3 separate regions of the Homo sapiens genome follow, and regions 2 and 3 are each linked to region 1. The links are contacts of gene promoters, found by promoter capture Hi-C in blood cells and fetal thymus (Javierre and others, 2016). All regions are on one chromosome and are shown on one strand. The core of a region is centred on a gene start or on the middle of the fragment in contact, and the rest is flanking DNA. Distances in the headings are between cores, read along the strand shown.

Region 1 (3,385 bases), core at 255-2,754:
CTCTACTAAAAATACAAAAAATTAGCCGGGCGTAGTGGCGGGCGCCTGTAGTCCCAGCTACTTGGGAGGCTGAGGCAGGAGAATGGCGTGAACCCGGGAGGCGGAGCTTGCAGTGAGCCGAGATCCTGCCACTGCACTCCAGCCTGGGCGACAGAGGGAGACTCCGTCTCAAAAAAAAAAAAAAAAAAAAAAAAGAACTGTGCTCATCACCACGCCACAGCTGCCTCTTAGATGTAACAACTTATAGGCCTCCTTTACACTTTACAAAGTACCTTCTTATTCCTAAACCCCTCTGGGCCTTGTAACATTTTGTTGAGGGCAACATGGTAGGAGCATCCGGCCCACTTTTCAGAAAAGGCTCAGAAAGGGGAAGCAACTTGCCCAAGGTCCCACAGCTAGTTTTATATGTTTAGGCCTAGACTGAACCCTTGCTTTTCTGAACCCAAAGCACATGCTCTTTATATTGCAGTCCACGACCTCTCTGCAACTAGTCTCATGGTTTTGAAGACAGGAAAACAAGTTCACAGAGGTGACATTTGCCCCAGGTCACACAGCTAGTAAGTGGATCTTAAACGGACGCCTGTCTGACCCCAAAGTCCAGGCAGTTTCCACTGTACCCGCACGAATGCTCTTTTATCCACCCCTCTCTCCGATGTGGCACCTGAGAACCTAGCTCAGAGAAATCAAGTCACTTTCCCAGAGTATCAGAAAGGAAATGTATCAGAGTTGCCTGGAACACAGACGTGTTTATTGTATTAACATCCAGGCCCTTTTCTTTGTACTAATCAGCCTCTGCTGTCATTCCATTTTATGGATGAGGCAGCTGAGGCTCAGAAAGGTGAAATCCCTTTCCCAGGGCTACAAAGAAAGAAGGTGACCCAGCCACGTCTACAGCACAGTAGTGATGGACCACAAAGCCTACTCGGGGAGGCCGAGACCCCACCCGCCCCAGTCCGGGGACCCTACCTCGGCGTCGAACATCTGGTCCAGCGAGGGGCTGCTTCGCACTAGCCCGTCCACCAGCGCCAGCCACAGGCCCAGCGAGCCGTAATACACGGTCTGCATGAGGACGATCTGCGACAGGATCAGCAGCGGGTCCCACACGTAGCTGCGGAACTGACCCGCCATGCCCTGCAGGGACACGAGCCGGGCCTCAGCCAGCGGCCTGTCTCCATGGCAACGTCGCCCCGCCCGGGAGGAGGGACTGGAACCAAGGGGTGAGCCCATTCCAAGAGTCAGGGGGAAGGCGGGGCAGACAGACCCATTCTCAGAGTGAGGGGAAATCCAGCCCATTCCGCCTGCGCGGCCCCCGCCCGTACACGAGCTCCTCTGGGGTCTACTCACCAGTGACAGACTCGACGATCGAAGTGTCTGAGCGTGGCCCGGCCTCACCGGCGGGCTCCCAAAACAGCGCTGACAGACAGGACCATGGAGGAGAGGCGCTGCCGGCCTAGAGAGGCAAAGCTCCAGCGACCACGGCGGCAGGAGCGGCTGCGTAGGAAAGAAACGTTTCCGGGGAAAGCAGCGGAGGGGCGGGGCTGAGGTTGCGCAGGCGTAGTGGGTGCAACCTCTGCCTGAACCTCCTGAACCAGGTACAAGCAGCCGGATAGCGAACTGAGCACATGCGCAGAAGGAAGAGTGAAGGCAAACGGAAGAGAGGAACGAAGGCCGCAGAGCTTGCGCGCCCTCTAGAGGGGAATTCTTTTTTTAAAGGAAGGCGGCTAGGGGAGAGGCAAGTGGGGTGGCTTAGGACGCGGTAATGATGTTTGGGAATTAACGAGGTGATAAACTGTGTCGTTATTTTCAGCCTAAATTCTCAATGTTTTCTCCTAGTTAGAGTCTGATAACTTGAAGTGGACCTGCAAGCTCCTCCACGTAGGAGTTTGCCAATGTTCCCGCTGTACAGATAGTTAAGCTAAGGGCCAGAGAAGGAAAGCAACATACTGTTTCAACGACACAGTTAGTAGCAAAGTAAGTATTAAAATTCAAGTGTTGGTCGGGCGCGGTGGCTCACGCCTGTAATCCCAGCACTTTGGGAGGCTGAGGTGGGCGGATTACCTGAGGTCGGTGTTTCGAGACCAGCCTGACCAACATGGAGAAACCCCGTCTCTGCTAAAAATACAAAATTAGCGGGGCGTGGTGGCGCACGCCTGTAGTCCTAGCTACTCGGGAGGCTGAGCCAGGAGAATTGCTTGAACCCGGGAGGCAGAGGTTGCAGTGAGCCGAGATCACGCCATTGCACTCCAGCCTGGGCAACAAGAGCAAAACTCCGTCTCTAAATAAATAAATAAATAAATAAATAAATAAATAAAATTCAAGTGTTTCCTCAACACTACAACATTGATTTCGCACCTACTCGGTGGCAGGAAGGCTAGAACATGTATATATAAGACAGCCCCTGCCCTGAGACACAGATGAACTATATTAGAAGGCAGAGTAGTGGGTGTTTTAAAATGTGGGTGTCCAGTGGAAAAAGGCACAGGTTCTGAAGTCGCACATAGGAGTAAATCCTGACCCTCTCTGCTGCCATGACTGTTTTATCTATCTTCCAAATCCGAATAGTGGACAGTCAGTAAATATTTGCTGAATGAGTTAAGAACAGAAAAAGCAAGAGCAAATCGATAACTCACTTATTCCTACTCCAGCAGACGAAAACCCATCAACTTCATTGATCCTAGGTTCCCCCTCTCTGAAGTGGAAAGACGGGAAGTAAGTTGTTCCAGGAAAAGAATTTGGGTTTTAGGGCCAGCTATGCCACCCAGTGTGACCAGCAAGCCACTTCCTTCTTTAAACCTCAGCTTCCCTGTTTATGAAATGAGGAGTTGGACATGATTAACGTTTTCCACCATTTAATCTACCTTCCAGTAATTATTTTCTCATTAAAAAAAAAACTTAGGCTGGGCACAGTGGCTCATGCCTGTAATCCCAGCACTTTGGGAGGCTGAGGCGGGCAGATCACAAGGTCAGGAGTTCAAGACCATCCTGGCTAACATGGTGAAACCCCATCTCTATTAAAAATACAGAAAATTAGCCGGGCCTGGTGGCAGGCGCATGTAGTCCCAGCTACTCGGGAGGCTGAGACAGGAGAATGGCGTGAACCTGGGAGGCGAAGCTTGCAGTGAGCCGAGATTGCGCCACTGCAGTCCAGCCTGGGCGACAGAGCGAGACTCCGTCTCAAAAAAAAAAAAAAAAAAACGTATCAAAGAGCCATGTAACTGCCAATCAGAATTTCTGAACAGCTTGTGGTAGCCGTGTTATCACCTTGAGCTGATACAATTCCAGACAAAAGTAAAGAAACTTGAGACTTTATTGAGAGTGTGCGATTGTCCTTATCATTTGGAAATACCCTGAACAGTTCCCCTGGACTCCAGTTGGGGAGTTATTA
Region 2 (3,385 bases), core at 237-2,736, 450 kb before region 1:
ATTGAGAGAGAGAGATAGACAGAGACAGACACACACACACACTCTGTCGCCCAGGCTAGAGTGCAGTGGTGCGCTCGGCTCACCGCAACCTCTGTCTCCACGGTTCAAATGATTCTTGTGCCTCAGCCTCCCGAGTAGCTGAAATTACAGGCATGCACCACCATGCCTGGATAATTTTTGTATTTTTAGTAGAGACAGGGTTTTGCAATGTTGGCCAGGCTGGTCTCGAACTCCTGACCTCAAGTGATCCGCCCACCTTAGCCCCCCAAAGTGTTGGGATTATAAGGTGTGAGCTACCGCGCCCAGCCTCCCCTTAATCTCATCACTCTGATCCAAAATAAAGCAACCAAATTCATAGGCTAGAAATACCAAGAAGGGCGGGGAGTTGGGTGTGGGTAAAGCTTGGTTGGGGCTAGGAAGTAGGGACACACTGGATAGGGAGGGTCTTGTATGACTTCAGGGAAGTGTTCGAGATAACTTCGTGTGGGGGGATGGAATTGGGAGGAGGGACTGCTGGAAGAAATGGTGTAGGTGGGGTGTATGAACTTCTTTCCCAGGAGGGAGCAAATTACATTACCCCTATGTCTAGCAAAAAAGCTGACGGAAAAAAGGAGGCTACTGAAAATTGGATGGAAGGCTGGGGTTCTGGGCACTTAATCACTCACCATGAGGGTCATCAGCTCCTGCTGTAGCCTGAAAAAAGAGTATTCGGGGTTACCTGGGAGTCTGGATGGGCCAGGCCTCCAGACGGTGCATCTTCTCCCACCTGAATCTCAGGGGGAGCCGTCATGGAGGCTCCCCACATCACCAAGGTCAGGCTCAGCTCAGGGTATACTCACCAGATCCACAGGACGATCCTAGCGAGTCCTCACCCTCCCTAATTCCAGACTCCCTCGGGATGATTCTGGCATGTTCTTAATTCCCCAGGCTTTAGCATCTCTTCCTTGCCCGACTCAACTTCTCCCTTCCCCTGTCTCGGCCAAGTCACGAGGGTCCTTGAGCGTCTTCATCTAGGCCCACCAGGGAAGGAGTCTGGCAGCGCCCCTACCCTCCCATTCTCCTTCGGGAGAGTCTCAAAGAGCGGTCTGAGCTCCTGGCCTGTCCCCCATCTCTCGAATCTCACCCGCGCAAGGAGGTGGGAGTCCCGGAAGTCTCCGCCCTCGACACCCATGCCCAGGGGAATGCCAGGCCCCGAGCTCCTGGTGTGTTCTCCTGCACCCGCAGATCTCCCGCTCCAGGAGGTGGCGGCGGGGGGTGGTCCTAGAAATCTTTGCTCTGGGTACCAATGCCTAGGGCATGGCAGGCCCGGCGAGTGGTAGGCCGCATCACTCACCTTTTGCCCACCGGACCCCGGGCGGCGCCCCCGCTCGGCTCAGCTCCTTTACGGGCGGCGGCGACGCTAGTGGCGGCTGGGTCGCGGTTTTGGGAAGCCATCCGGGCGGCGTTGGCAGAGAGACAGGAACTCGGAGAACACGACTGCAACTGCAGGACTGCGGGCCCGCCCGCCCGCGTTTGAATTGTAACCCTCTGGGGGCGTCGACCAATCAATGGCTCGCTTGGGTTTGATCCAGCCAATGAGACGCTCCGGAGCGCTCTATTGCTGCGCCACTGCTAGACCTACCCACTGGCGCACCGCTATTGGGCGGCAGAATCCCGCTTCTGACAACCGATTGGTAGATGATGCTGCCATTAACTAACGAATCCGTAGCGAATTGGTGGCCGTTGGAAAACGCTAACCATTAAAGGGCCAAGAAAACGTCCACGTGGGATGAACCCCTCCTTCTGGCTACACGTCTTACTCCGCGTGGGAACACTCGGCACGCCCAGCCTTGATCCAATTTCCCTCGGGCAGGGAGTGCCTCCAATCCTGCAGCACTGGTACCCTCCCACCATTATAATCGCCTGGGCACCTTTGCTGCGTCCTAAGTATCTGAAAATCCCAGCGAGGGGAAAAACTAAAGGCTGATGGCCAGAGCAGCAGGCTCCCTATTAGAAAACATAGGTCCATACATCTCCGCAGAGATGACAGAAATAAAAAAAGGCAACATTGGTTCAGGCTGGTCGCAGTGGCTCACGTCCGTAATCCCGAACACTTTGGAAGGCCCAGGCAGGAGGATCACTTGAACCCAGGAGTTCGAGACCAGCCTGAGCAACAGGATAGGGAGACCTGTCTCTACTTAAAAGAAAAAAAAAAAAAAAGAAAAGAAAAAAAAAAAAGGCTGGTGAGGTGGCACGAGCCTGTAGTCCCAGCTACTGGCGAGGCTGAGGCGGGAGAATCGCTTGAGCCAGAGGCTGCACTCTAGCCTGGGCAACAGAGCAAGACTGTCTTCAAACAAACAAAAACCCCAACAACACAGGTTCATATCCTGTATATCCTACCTCCCCAGTGGGTAGTGTGTAACCTTGGGGCGGGTCCTTTAGTATCTTAACCTGTAAAATGGGAGCAATAAAAGCCAACTCTATTTTTCATATGATCTGTCATCAAACTCCATCGCATTCTGCCATGTCCTTACATTAGCTGGGTAAGGAAACTACAAATGGGCAAAGGGAAGACGGGCAGGGTACATGGTGCTCCCAGGTTGGTCTTATCAAGCCTGGCTCTATACTGTTATGGGTGAGGGTTATCTCGTCCTTTTTTCCTACACCCACTTCTAGAGCCCTTGATGTTCTGTCAATTCCCACAAGGTAGAGGGCACAGCAGGTTCACCATCTGTGTTTACTACAAACTGTTTAATTGTTTCTTATCCCAATAACTTTACAAATATAGAACCACATGCTAGTCTGGGGGTGCTGTGCAGTGAGTCACTACAAACTCGCTCAGGCACAGCTTAATGCCGCTGAGATCCATCTAGGAGCAGTCCCAGCGGTGGCCTCAGCCACGTGAGGAAGAGGGCTTTGGAGGAGGGCTGCCAAGTGTGGCCAGGGGACCCGGCCTCAGGTCTGTGGAGGTGCTTCAACAGCACGATGCTCATTCTCTGTCCGTAGTGTCTCCATATACTTTCTCATCTTCTCCACCATCCAGGAGGGTAGGACAAAGGATTTCAATTCCTCTAGCTTCAGATCCAGGCATCCTCTGGAACAGACATTGAAGAGAGAAGTTGGGGGAAGTGAGGATGTAGGCCCTGCCTCATTCTAGGGGCTATTTGGAGGCAGGGAGAGGAGAAGGGGCAGGAGACCCACTGGTTTTACCTGTAATCATCACTGGCCGCAAGGTCCCGGATGTCCTCCTCGATGAGGAGGTAGGCCTGAGGCAGGAGCAAGGGAGAGTGGTCATTGCCTGATTCATTTCACTCCAACTCAGTAACACTTCATTAAACATCTGTTTAATGTAAGGCCTGCTACTAGGTGGAAGCGGGGGATGCGGTTTACAATTTAGTACGGAAGA
Region 3 (3,385 bases), core at 570-3,069, 410 kb before region 1:
AGGCTGCAGTGAGCTATGATTATGCCACTGCACTTTGGCCTGGGCAACACAGTGAGACCCTGTCTTAAAAAAAATCAGATGTATTGCAGATACATGATACACATAAATATTTACATTATATATGTATATAAATATATAACTATATATAAACATACACATGGGACACAATGAAAAATGTGTTTCATATTGTGAGCGTCTCTGGGCTCCAATGCTTTGATTATGTAGCAGAGTTTGGTGGTGAATGTCCCGCTGACCCCCTTCCGTGTGAGGAGCTGTGTGATGGGGATGCATCCTGTCCCCAGGGGCATAAATGCTGCAGCACCGGCTGTGGCCGCACCTGCCTCGGAGACATTGAGGGAGGTATGTTGGCTCTTTTGGGAAGAAATCCTTGAGTGTTTCCTGAGAAGAGTGCTTCTCTTTCCCTTCCTGGGAGGAGCTAGGATTCTCATCCTTCCTGTCCCTCTGGTCCCCCAACCCAAAGCAACCCATTCTTCTAGGGCCGAGGGGCCCTGTCGACATTAAAAGAACTGGGGGAAGGCACTGTGGGGCAGTAGGAACTACTTGGGCTGGAAGACAGACAGTGTGGCTTTTGGTCTTGATTCTGCTGAGGTTTTGCTTTGTGACCTTAGGTAAGCAAACCCGTCTTTTTGAGCCCAAATTTCTTTATCTGTAAAATGAAGGAGTTGCCCAAGATCCTGATTTTCAGATCTAATTTTTAACAAAAAGCTTCTCCCCTGCCCCAAATGAAATCTTAGTTGGAAACACACACACACATATATATATATATATATATATATATTTTTTTTTTTTTTCTTTTTTTTCTTTTTTTTTTTTTTTGAGACAGAGTCTTGGTCTGTACCCCAGGCTAGAGTGTAGTGGCGTGATCTTGGCTCACTGAAACCTCTGCCTCTGGGGTTTCTTCTGCCTCAGCCTCCTGAGTAGCTGGGATTACAGGCACACGCCACCATGCCCAGCTAATTTTTGTATTTTTAGTAGAGATGGGTTTTCATCATGTTGACCAGGCTGGTCTTGAACTCCTGACCTCGTGATCTGCCTGTCTCGGCCTCCCAAAGTGCTGGAATTACAGGCGTGAGCCACCACGCCCAGCTGGAAACACACACACACACACACACACACACACACACACACACACACAGAGATAAAAGCATTCCTGTTCCAATGCCTTTTTTTCTTCAACATTTTAAAAAAACAAATATTTTTGAGTGCCAGGCACTGTGGATCTCCATTAAAGAATCATTGACCCTTGTGCTATCTTAGTCCCTTTAGATTCCCAGGCAGTGCTCAAGGCTGAGGACAGACTCTTGTCCGTATGTAGCTTATAGCCCATCAGGCAAGATAGACATATTCCTTTTAAATAAGGGATTATGATAAAGTTTGATGAGAGGAAGCATACAGGGTGCTACAGGAGCACAAAGCAGGGACATCAAACCTTGTCTAGGGTGGCAGAGGAGGCCACCGTGAAGAAGTGACACTATGAATCCAGAGCATAGGGGGAGGGGGAGTGGTCTGGGAGGCTTGCCCCTGCCACACTTCACCCACCCCCACCCCAAACCTGCAGAGGTGTCAATCCCTGAGTTACCTCTTGGGAACTCCCTTTGGGGCACCATTTGAAAACTCTGGGCTCAGAGGTCTCTTGGGTTCCTAAAGATTCTGAGATCCTCCAGCGCCATGGTTTCCCAGCCAGTTTAGTTGGGTCTAGTGAGGGTCAGGGGTTGATTGACCTAGAGCCTCTGTGTGTAAGTTCACGATGGGAACATGGAGATGGCAGAGCTGATGCCCTGTCCCTTTTCCTGTGCCTGTTGTTCCCACAGGGCGGGGCGGTGATTGTCCAAAAGTTCTGGTGGGCCTGTGCATTGTTGGCTGTGTGATGGATGAGAATTGTCAAGCTGGAGAAAAATGTTGCAAGTCAGGCTGTGGCCGCTTCTGTGTCCCACCAGTCCTGCCCCCAAAACTGACCATGAACCCCAACTGGACTGTGAGGTCTGATTCCGAATTAGGTGAGTACAGTCCATTGTCATCAACAATAACAGACAACTGCTATGTGCAAAGCACTGGCTTAGGTGCTGGGAAGGGGACTTCAGAAGGTCAGGAAAAGTCTAGTTGGAGAGAAAGAACCTATGTCCCAGATGAAAACCCTCATACAAACAGTACAGGCTTACACCTGTTCTCAGGTGTGGCAAACCTGTGTCCCAGATGAGAACCCTCATATAAACAGTACAGGCTTACACCTGTTCCCAGGTGTGGCTCCCTGGGAAGGTCTCTGTGGGAGAGGTGGGATTTGATTGAGGTGCTTAAGGCTAGGCAGATGCGACAAAGGGAGGATAGCACAGGGACATGCCAGATAGGCAATCTGGTGATTGCTGGCAAAGGAACACAGGGTGGGAATGTGTGGGATATGTTTGGGAGGTGAGGAGTGGGGGCAGGGTGGGTAAAGGAACAGACGTATCTCCAGTTTTTTTTTTTTTTTTTTTGAGATGGAGTTTCACTCTTGTCACCCAGGCTGGAGTGCAATGGCACAATCTCGACTCACTGCAACCTCTGCCTCCTGGATTCAAGCAATTCTCCTGCCTCAGCCTCCCAAGGCTGGGATTTACAGGCGCCTGCCATCATACCTAGCTGATTTTTGTATTTTTAGTAGAGACAGTGTTTCACCATGTTGGCCAGGTCTGGTCTCGAGCTCCTGATCTCAGGTTATCCACCCACCTTGGCCTCCCAAAGTGCTGGGATTACAGGCATGAGCCACTGTGCCCGACCATAATTCCAGTTTTTTATAACAGGAGATACAAGGTTGACATCTGAATAATAAGAGCCTTCAGTGCCAGTTTGGATTGGATTGTCTGGGAAGCAAGGAGCTATTTAAGACTTTTGAGAGCAATATAGGCCAAGCTTTCCTAGGGTGGAGGGAAAACATTTCAGGTAGCTGAAGCCAGGAGGGCACAGCTGTGACTTGATGTTTCTTCTACTTGCAGAGATCCCGGTGCCCTAGCTGTGCTGATTTGTCTGGAGCTTCTTTGGTAATTCTGGAAGCTTTTCCTGGCAGTCAAGAGAGGGTGACATCCTGGGGCTTGTGACATTTCCAGGGGCACTCATGGCCCTCTCTGCTCTGCTTCTCCTCCTGCCGCTGACCAGAGCATGGGAAATAGCCCTGGATTGGGTAGTGGGTGTGTGGTGCTTCTCTTTCCCGATAAAGGCTGGTGCTGACCTCTTGTTTGTGCTATTTGAGGGCTCAGATGATATGGGAGAGCTAGAGGGTATGTGTGTGCCTGTGGGATTGTACGATTTACATATTTAGGACAGATGGGTAATCCATTCTTTGTGAGGACACTGAAAATGGGTTTTGGTTGGGTGTGGCTAGGGAAGAGAT

Evidence for each region. The method cuts DNA at HindIII sites, captures the fragments that hold promoters and counts their contacts. A CHiCAGO score of 5 or more calls a contact.
Region 2: a contact is called between the fragment with the promoter of UBE2C here and the fragment with the promoter of SYS1 in region 1, in 1 of 17 cell types (naive CD8 T cells). The highest score is 5.1, in naive CD8 T cells.
Region 3: a contact is called between a fragment that was not itself captured here and the fragment with the promoter of SYS1 in region 1, in 6 of 17 cell types (M0 macrophages, M1 macrophages, M2 macrophages and 3 more). The highest score is 6.8, in M0 macrophages.

What each region holds. Positions count from the first base shown.
Region 1 is chr20:45,361,275-45,364,659 of GRCh38, reverse strand. It overlaps SYS1 (SYS1 golgi trafficking protein), which reads right to left and starts at 1,504. Exons shown (of 4, transcript NM_033542.4): 1 at 1,345-1,504; 2 at 967-1,131. The coding sequence starts at 1,128. It overlaps SYS1-DBNDD2 (SYS1-DBNDD2 readthrough (NMD candidate)), which reads right to left and starts at 1,491. Exons shown (of 6, transcript NR_003189.2): 1 at 1,345-1,491; 2 at 967-1,131. LOC124904914 (a long non-coding RNA gene) reads left to right here and starts at 1,292. Exons shown (of 2, transcript XR_007067609.1): 1 at 1,292-1,592; 2 at 1,834-2,304. RefSeq lists an enhancer at 1,335-1,774. The HindIII fragment of the contact is 10,354 bases long and covers 1-3,114 here.
Region 2 is chr20:45,810,745-45,814,129 of GRCh38, reverse strand. UBE2C (ubiquitin conjugating enzyme E2 C) reads right to left here and starts at 1,486. Exons shown (of 6, transcript NM_007019.4): 1 at 1,334-1,486; 2 at 666-693. The coding sequence starts at 1,434. DNTTIP1 (deoxynucleotidyltransferase terminal interacting protein 1) reads right to left here. Exons shown (of 13, transcript NM_052951.3): 12 at 3,190-3,245; 13 at 2,712-3,073. The coding sequence ends at 2,935. RefSeq lists a silencer at 1,494-1,683. The HindIII fragment of the contact is 3,801 bases long and covers 404-3,385 here.
Region 3 is chr20:45,774,050-45,777,434 of GRCh38, reverse strand. WFDC3 (WAP four-disulfide core domain 3) reads left to right here. Exons shown (of 7, transcript NM_080614.2): 5 at 226-360; 6 at 1,833-2,018; 7 at 2,991-3,222. The coding sequence ends at 3,007. Among named protein-coding and RNA genes, the nearest start is that of WFDC3, 16 kb to the left of the region's middle. RefSeq lists an enhancer at 1,689-1,858. The HindIII fragment of the contact is 2,181 bases long and covers 729-2,909 here.